Regions from separate parts of the Homo sapiens genome. Here all the other regions are linked to region 3. The links are contacts of gene promoters, found by promoter capture Hi-C in blood cells and fetal thymus (Javierre and others, 2016). All regions are on one chromosome and are shown on one strand. Each heading gives the region's core, a stretch centred on a gene start or on the middle of the fragment in contact. The rest is flanking DNA. Distances are from core to core; before and after follow the strand shown. Region 1 overlaps MTMR8 (myotubularin related protein 8). Region 2 overlaps LOC112268307. Region 3 holds the start of PJA1 (praja ring finger ubiquitin ligase 1).

Region 1 (2,752 bases), core at 252-2,751, 4.8 Mb after region 3:
TTTGCCCACTTTTTAGCATAAAACTTTGATGCTGCCTGATGGGCAAAGCACAAACTCCAACCTTTAACCTTTTTTTCTGACTCCCTCCTCTTCAGGGCCTTTCTCTGTGGAGGATAACCACATCCCGTGTAAAAGCCAGCCAGCCTTGCCTTTTTCTGTGTCCCTTTGTTTCCGGATCATGTCATTTGTACGGGTCCTCTGACATGGTATAAGAAGGTGGTACCATTAAAGGAAAGGAACTTCTGTTGTCCAGACTCCCTCTTCTCCCAACCCACCTAAGCTTGGGCCACGTTACTTGTCTAGTTCAAAATCAGCTCACTCGAATACTCCTTTTTTCTCTCTTTTGACAACTGGGGAAGATGGGGAGGCAGAACTGCTCCTGTCCTTGAGTGTTAAAATATTAAAATTCCCCTGTTAGGGATTGAAGCTATAAACTGGGCTGGCTCTATGGAAATTGGAAGGGAGAAGAAACCATTAACGGGCCCATATGAAAATTATAATAGCAGCTAATACGTATAGAATATTTAACTATGTGACAGGCACTGTGTTCAATATTTTACCTGAAATATGCCTTGAATCCTTACAATAACCTATTAGGAGATACTATTATTATTCCCATGTTACAGATGAGGAAACTGAGATCCATAGATGTGGAATGCTTGCCTAATAAACAAAGATAGGAGTGCTCAGACTGGTGCTGGGATAGGGTTCGTGCTCAAGAAAACTTAAACTTGCATCATGGTCAGACTCCATTTGTACTGCATGGATAGTGTGATTAGTCTTGAAATATAAATAAAAACTCCAAATGAAGACTTGATTCTTTAAGCAGAATTAGTATTTGTTTTGGTGCCTGGCAGGGCTGTGAGTGCCCACAGGTGGTATGCTGCTGTGAGTCTGTTTTTTTCTCAGTTTCTAGAAAGGATTAGGGTTGCATTAATGGCTCGGGATTAAAATGGCCTCCCTTTTGTTAACTCACTGTTTCCATAAAAGAGAGAGACATCTGCCTTGTCCATCTCAGGTCAAAGGGATAACTTTGAGTTTGTCAGTCATTAGTTGTGTATGTCAAGTACAAAAGTGACTTTTATTTTTGGCTCTTGCTTGAGTCTTTTTCTTTACTCAGGAAGACTTTAAAAAATTATTGAAGTACAGTACACATAAAGAAAAGTGTATAGATTGGAAGTATTCATTGTGCTATAAACTTAAAAACTGGACACACCTGTGCAACCGCTACTGAGATTAAAAAAAACAAAAACAAAAAACAAACAAACAAACAAAAAAAAGAACATTACTAGAAGTCCACTTCATGCCCCCTTCCAGTCAATACCCCTCCCAAGGGTAAACTACTATACTGACCTCTAACAGGATACATTCATTTTACTCTTTTGTTGTACTTAATATAAATGGATTAATACATTCTCTTTTGTGTTTGACTTCTTTTGCTCAACATTGTTTGAAAGATTTATCCATATTATTTCTTGAAGTTATAGATCATTCTCATTGCTATATTATGTTTTGTTAACATGCCACATGTGATTTATCCATTCTTCTGTTGATGGGGAATTTCCAGTTTCTGCCTTTTGCCAATAGTACATTTTGACAGATTTAAATATACATTTTTGTTGGTATATGCCATCGGAGTGGAATTTCTGGGCCGTAGAATATGCATATGTTCATCTAGACACTACCAATTTTACATTCCCACGACCTATGTATGAGAACAGATCTATCTAAGATATAGCTTAGGGTTCAACAACCATTTTTGGAGCGTCTCAGACCTGCCCTAAAGTTTGGTGACTCTCCTATCTGAATCAGAATTTGTTCTATGTATTTTTCCCTACCCTCATTACATCTGTGTCAGTTGGCACCCAGAATTCTTAATTACTTTTCTTTCCTGGAATGGAACCTTAATAATAAGGCTTTATGCAATTAACATTTATTGAGCTTCAACTGGTTTGACAATTTGCTGTGGTTTAAGAGTGCATACTTTGGAGCCAGGCTGTCTGAAATAAAATCTCAACTCTGCTACTTAACTAGCTTTGTGATTTTGGCAAATATATAATCTCTTTTGCCTCAGTTTCTTCATCTATAAGATGGTGTTGAAAATAGTACCTATCTCACAGGGTTGTTATAAGAATTAAATAAGTTAGTATCTGTAAAGTGCTTAGAACAATGTCTGGCACATGGTAGATGCTTAATTTAGCTACCAGTCACTATCATCATCGTTATTAATTATTATATGCAGAATATCACATTGGGAGTCAAGGATACATAACTGGATATGGATATGGCAACTGCCCTCTGGGATCTCTTAAGTAAGGTGATGAGATGCCAAGCACAAGGTCCAAAAATGAAAGAGACTGAAAAATATGTCTATTCTGTCTTGTGATCTGATGGGAGCAGCCTGACAGGCAGGGAGAAGCTCTTCCAAGTTTACAGCCTCTTAGACCTCAATAACTACTCTAGAGAATAGTGTTATGTGTTTAATTCATGAATCTCTTTAATCAAGGACAAGGATAATTTAGTCAAAAATCTGTTTTCTGGACTCTCCTTCACATAAATAATTGCTAGCTCATTAAGGAATGTTTTAACACAAAAAAAGTAATTTCTACATTTGTGTGGGTAGAAAAAAAAGACAGTGAAAGATTTTATAGATTGTAAAGGACTTTGAATGTTACACTGAGGAATTTGAACTTGTAAATAGCCAAGGAGCTACTAAAGCTTTATAAGTCTAGAAATGGAAAAGTTAGAAAGG
Region 2 (2,875 bases), core at 229-2,728, 5.0 Mb after region 3:
TGAACTTAGTGCAGACACCCTATCAGCATAGTGCATTACATCCCAGAACTCCTGAACTTAAGCTATCCTCCTGCTTCAGCCTCCCAAGTAGCTGGGACTACAGGCATGTGCCACTGCCCCAGGATATCCATCACATTTATTGCCATCTGACCTACTGTATATTTTATGTATATATTTGTTCATTGTCTATCCCTCACGGAGCTTCCATTTTCATGATAAGAAAGAGAAAATTTAAAAATGACTCTAAAATAAATAACAATAAAAAATATACCAAGAGGTGGTAAATGCTGTGGATAAGAAAAAAAGGCCTATTAAAGAATTGGAGAGTGAAGGGGGTGGAAATGGGGATTGCTATTTTATATATCAACTGTTCAGTGAAGGTGTCACTATTAATGACATTTGAGCAGCCACCTGAAGGAAATGAGGTGCAAACTATGCCAATATTCAGAGGACAAACACTGTAGGCAGAGGGAGCAGCCAGTGCAAAGGCCCTGAGGTGGGATTTCTGACAAGTCAAATTCAGTATGTCCTAAACAAAATCATTTTTTTTTTGGAGACGGAGTCTCGCTCTGTCGCCCAGGCTGGAGTGCAGTGGAGCGATCAAGGATCACTCCAAGTTCTGCCTCCCAGGTTCATGCCATTCTCCCGCCTCAGCCTCCCAAGTAGCTGGGACTACAGGCGCCCGCCATCACGCCCGGCTAATTTTTTGTATTTTTAGTAGACACGGGGTTTCACCGTGTTAGCCAGAATGGTCTTGATCTCCTGACCTTGTGATCCGCCCACCTCGGCCTCCCAAAGTGCTGGGATTACAGGCGTGAGCCACCGCACCTGGCCACATTTTCCTAATTCTGTTCCTATATTACTCAGTTCAGTGGATGACAACACCATCCAGCAGTCCCTTGTCCAAGTAAGAAACTCAGGAGTTTTCTTCCTCTTCCACTAGACTGGTTGCCCTTGAGACCAGAAGCTGTGTGTAGTCCATCATTCTGGGTAATGAGTGTGTCACTTAACACAGGGCCTGGCACAAAGGAGATGCCCAATGAGTGGTAACATCACACTTCATTGGTGGATGCTGGCACTTAAGCTTGATATTAGGCCTGAAAATGCCTCATTTCATGTTCAGTAAATACATACTCATCAACAAGTTTCTGCCAAACTCTCTGTTGAGTGCTGAGGATATGAAGATGAACAAAATATTCTGCCCTGGGAAACTGAGTCTGGGTCTGCACAATAAAGTGAGTCTGTTCATAAGGAATCATAGGCTCATGTGTGTTTATATTAAAAACTGGTTTCGGCCAGGTGTGGTGGCTCACGCCTGTAATCCCAACACTTTGGGAGGCCAAGGCAGATGGATCATGAGGTCAGGAGATCTAGACCAACCTGGCTAACACAGTGAAACCCCGCCTCTACTAATAATACGAAAAATTAGCTGGGTGTGGTGGCAGGTACCTGTAGTCCTAGCTACTCGGGAGGCTGAGGCAGGAGAATGGCGTGAACCCGGGAGGCGGAGCTTGCAGTGAGCCGAGATCGCTCCACTGCACTCCAGTCCGGGCGACAGAGCGTGACTCCGTCTCAAAAAAAAAACCAAAAACAAAACAAAAACTGGTTTCAAAGTCATATTAGCAGTTCCATAACTTTGAAGATCTGTACATTGGATCAGAAGGATAGCAATAATAATAACAGCATCAGTAACTAACATTTATTGATACCATCTTATGTACTAGCCTCTGTGCCACTTCATATGGACTACTCAATTCTTACCACAATTCTCTGACATGGGTGCTATTATTTTCATTTTGCAGAAAAAAATGTTGAGACTCAGAGAGGTAAATTGACCTGCCCAGATCATACTGCTCCTAAGTGGCAAGCTTCACATCCCAGCCCAGGCAGTCTGGTGGCAGAGCCACTACAACATACCACTTTCCTGGAAAAGATGAACTTAGCTAGTTGAGCCTCAATTTACCCAGGCAGTCATGGTCTTTTACACTTTGGCCCCAGGCCTTTCTTTCTAGTCTAATGTCCAGCTCTTCCTCTCCCCACCACACAAATACTTAGCCACAGCCATCCAGAATTGTAGCTCTTGCCCAACCCACCATACCCTCTCACTGATGGGCTTTGGCTTGGGCAGGAATCCTTCCCCTACTTTTCTGACTTGACCCAACCGTCAAAGCTATCCTCCATAGAACTTTTCTCTGATACCCCTTGCCACCCTGGGGAGAAGGAGTCTCTTCATCTGCAATGCTCCAGAACACCTTTGCCAGACCTCTAGTGTAGATTTCAGTTCCTCTCAGAACTCCATACCCAGGTGCCTCAAAAAGGTTAACACTGTACTGCTTCTCCCAATAACTATCAACAGGCCTGGCATAGAGGAAATGACTATGGAATACTTGGTGAAGAAAGAAATGAGCATTGTAATGATGTGCCCTGTAATGATGTGTCTACTTGAGTTTATGAAGTTGCCTCCACACAGCCCACACATCTGTTCTTATGGGCTTTTCACCGCAGCCACAAGACACTAGGCAGCACGAGGATTATCTCCATTTTGCAGGTAAACAAACTTAAGAAAGATTTCCAGCTCCTCACAACCAGTGCCTGTCTTGACTAAGCAAGTTGACCACGTGTCAGTCAGCATGTGGAATGGGGTCTTACAGTACTCTCTCTATGAGGAGGCATTTTGAGGTGCAAGTTTATGCACACACTTGGTCTTTCCATACATCGTCCCTGGAGAGAAGTGAGCTATGCAAACAAGAAGCTGTGTTGTCCCCTCCCACATCTTTTCCCCTTTAATACACACATACAGTATCCTCCCAAGACTCAGTAATATCTGGACCATAAAGAAGGGTGCTCAGCTGGGAGTTCTCTAGGATCACAAAGA
Region 3 (2,916 bases), core at 14-2,513:
CTCCTAAGTAGTTGGGACTACAGGCACACACCACCAGCTTGTCATATCTTTCTCAGTGAATAAAGCAACCTGTTTTGTTCTCTTTAGTTCTTTTTACTTTGAGTTCTCGATGTTTAGGATATTGATATTGTTACGAGTTTGTTTCCTCCTTCCTTTCCTTCCTTTTTTTTTTTTTTGCTTCTTTCCTTCCCTCATTCCCTCTCTCCCTTTTTTCTGCTAGTATTTTACTCTCATATATTTTTTATTCCTATTTCTGCTTTAGGTGAAACTCACATAAATAGAATATAACTTAGCTTTTAAAAACAAAATGCTCAAAATAAGAGTTTGGTTTTTATTAGGAGATGTTAACCCATAATGCATGCTGATATATTTGGATTCCTGCATTTTTGTTTTCTTTTTGCATCCTTTTTTTTGTACCCCCCCAGCAACATTTCTTGACCTTTGTTAAGAATGAGTTTTTCTCTTTGTTCCACATATTATTACTTTAATGGTTTGAAAGTTATACATTTTATTTCTATTATGTTGTTACCCCTAAGATTTTTGTTCTATTATGCATTTTGTTTCCAGTAAGAACAAAACTTTGCTACTGTTGTGAACATGGGAAATGTTTACATTGGCTGTAAATACTAGAGTTCCATTATAAAGCGCAATTTAAAGACTTCAGAATTCAGTAAAATGGTATAAATCCAAAAGGCGTAACTACAATATTTTTAACTGCAATGCAATAACAGAATATGAACCTGTGTTGTGTCCTATGATCTCTTGGACAGAGAAGCTTGGTTTTGTGATTAGCAGCAACAAATTCAACATAAACAGCTTCAATTTGCTTTAACCATCAGGTTAAAAAAAATTTAAGCTTACTGCAACCCTAAATATGGTTTCACAGTTTTAATACTTTCGGTACAACCATAACACGTAACATAGGATGTGATGTAGTAACGTAATTACTCTCACATTGGACTTAATCAGAAAGAATTTGCAGATTTTATTTTATTTATTAAAAAACCAGAAGGCAATATAGCTAAATGTTTAACATTAGTTAAAGCTGGGTGTTTGTGACATTTTTCGCTGTCCTTTTCTGTATCCTTGACGATTTCATCATTTAAGATGAAATAATGCTTTCGGGCCCACCCTGATTTGTGGAGAGCAGCTGCCGCCCCCGCCACATCAAGGAGGCGGGCTCCAGCTGACTTCACAATCACTTCCGCCGCCGCAGTCGCCGCCCGCCCCGCTGCTGTCTGGCGGGGGAGGAGCTCGGGACCGGGAGCAGCGGCTCTGGCGGTCGTGGCGGTCGGAGATCCGAGAGCTCTGCTTCTCTGAAAAGCGTGTGGCTTTCTGGACTTGGTGAGTGAAAGGCTGATTGTTTCCTCGATTCATCCGGGCGCTGGCGGTGGCGCGAGTGGCCGGGCGCGGGGCGAGTGGCCGGGCACGGGGGCGAGGATTTTGGGGGGTTCCTGGGAACTGCTTTTCAGGTTCGCCCCTCGGGAAGGGGTGGGGCGGACGCGGGACCTGACTGCAGAGTGAGGCCCATGTCCTCCATCGGCCTGTTCTGGGGCCACATCTTCCGCTGCCGGAACCCCTTTGGTGTGGCGCGGTCCCCACTCGAGTGGCTTTCATCGCTATTGGGAGGGCAGTGGTGGTCGCGGCCCTCTCCCACTTCTCCCTGCCTCTCCTCCCCTCTCCTTCCTTCTTCCCTCCTCGGCCCCTTTGCGGAGCACTCCGTGGCCTTTCTTCCCATATTTTGCTGTTGTTTTGCCAAATGGTAAATGGTTAAGATTTTTAGGTAAAAATACTGTTCCCAGGGAAAAAATTGGAAGGAAAAAATAATTATTCTCAGGGAAAACTAGACCCACGCACGCCCTTTTCTTTCATTTTCCCTCTCCCCTGCCACATCGGTTGGGGTCTCCCGTTTGAGCTGATGGCCTTTTCCCACCTCTTTTTATGACATTGCGTCCCCCCTACCCCCCACCCCCCGTGTGTCGCGAGCACGCGCCCCCGCACAGAAGCCTTCCATTGCAGCCCCCTCCTTGCCCCTCCATCCTCAAGGTTCCAGTGCTTCCCCTCCCCCGCGCATGCGCAGGCACACGCAGCACACACCCTCTCACACACCCTCACACCCTCACACCCTCCCATGCCTTCCCCCTCCTCTATCCGCCTACCACATACACACCTCTAGCACCGGCCCCCTCCCTGCTCGGCCTCTGCGTGCTCTCGCGAACACATGCCTATTCACACACCCCCTCCGGCTGCCCTCCTTCTTCCTTCCTGTCATATACACACATAAGGACATCCTTCTATCGCTGGCCAGTGACATACATATGTAGCCACATGTGCTCATTCATACCCCCTTCTCAAATGCTCTCCTCTATTGCTCTGTCTGCCACGTGTGTCAGACACAGCTCTCTTTTGCTGGTCCCTGAGGTGCACACACTCGCACTCACATAAATCCTTCTACGGGGACACAACCTGCCTCCCTGCTTGCCATATCCACACAGGCAGGCATCATTCTTTGATTGCCTGCCTCTGTTCCATCCACCTCAAGCACATCCCTCTCCAGTGCTGCGCACCCCCCACCCCCGCTTCCATTTGTGCCTGCTGCATTTGCTCACACTGACATTTCTCCATTGTTGCCTCCCATTTTGACTAACATACACACACACAAACTCTCAGACACTCCTCTCCATTGCCAACCATACACTCCTCTGCCTGTGACATACGCATAAACATGGGCATCCTTCTGTAGTTTCAGCTGCCTCACATACAGCTACACACACAAACACCTTCCCTTTCCTCATACATACACGCACCCCTCTCCTCCAAAGCCACCCCACCCATGCCTGTCATTTTCATACCCACATCCAGAATGGGTCTCATTCTAACACTCATACCCTTTCCCCCTACAAACGTAAACATCCC

What was found. The method cuts DNA at HindIII sites, captures the fragments that hold promoters and counts their contacts. A CHiCAGO score of 5 or more calls a contact.
Region 1: a contact is called between a fragment that was not itself captured here and the fragment with the promoter of PJA1 in region 3, in 1 of 17 cell types (naive CD8 T cells). The highest score is 5.4, in naive CD8 T cells.
Region 2: a contact is called between a fragment that was not itself captured here and the fragment with the promoter of PJA1 in region 3, in 2 of 17 cell types (activated CD4 T cells and total B cells). The highest score is 7.1, in activated CD4 T cells.

Annotation. Positions count from the first base shown.
Region 1 is chrX:64,391,106-64,393,857 of GRCh38, reverse strand. All of the region lies in intron 1 of MTMR8 (myotubularin related protein 8), which reads left to right. Among named protein-coding and RNA genes, the nearest start is that of MTMR8, 3.0 kb to the left of the region's middle. The HindIII fragment of the contact is 2,438 bases long and covers 283-2,720 here.
Region 2 is chrX:64,207,939-64,210,813 of GRCh38, reverse strand. The region is part of intron 2 of LOC112268307; the gene reads right to left. It also overlaps the pseudogene RN7SL799P. Among named protein-coding and RNA genes, the nearest start is that of AMER1, 3.7 kb to the right of the region's middle. The HindIII fragment of the contact is 784 bases long and covers 1,087-1,870 here.
Region 3 is chrX:69,163,800-69,166,715 of GRCh38, reverse strand. It overlaps PJA1 (praja ring finger ubiquitin ligase 1), which reads left to right and starts at 1,263. Exons shown (of 2, transcript NM_001032396.4): 1 at 1,263-1,344. The HindIII fragment of the contact is 4,972 bases long and covers 859-2,916 here.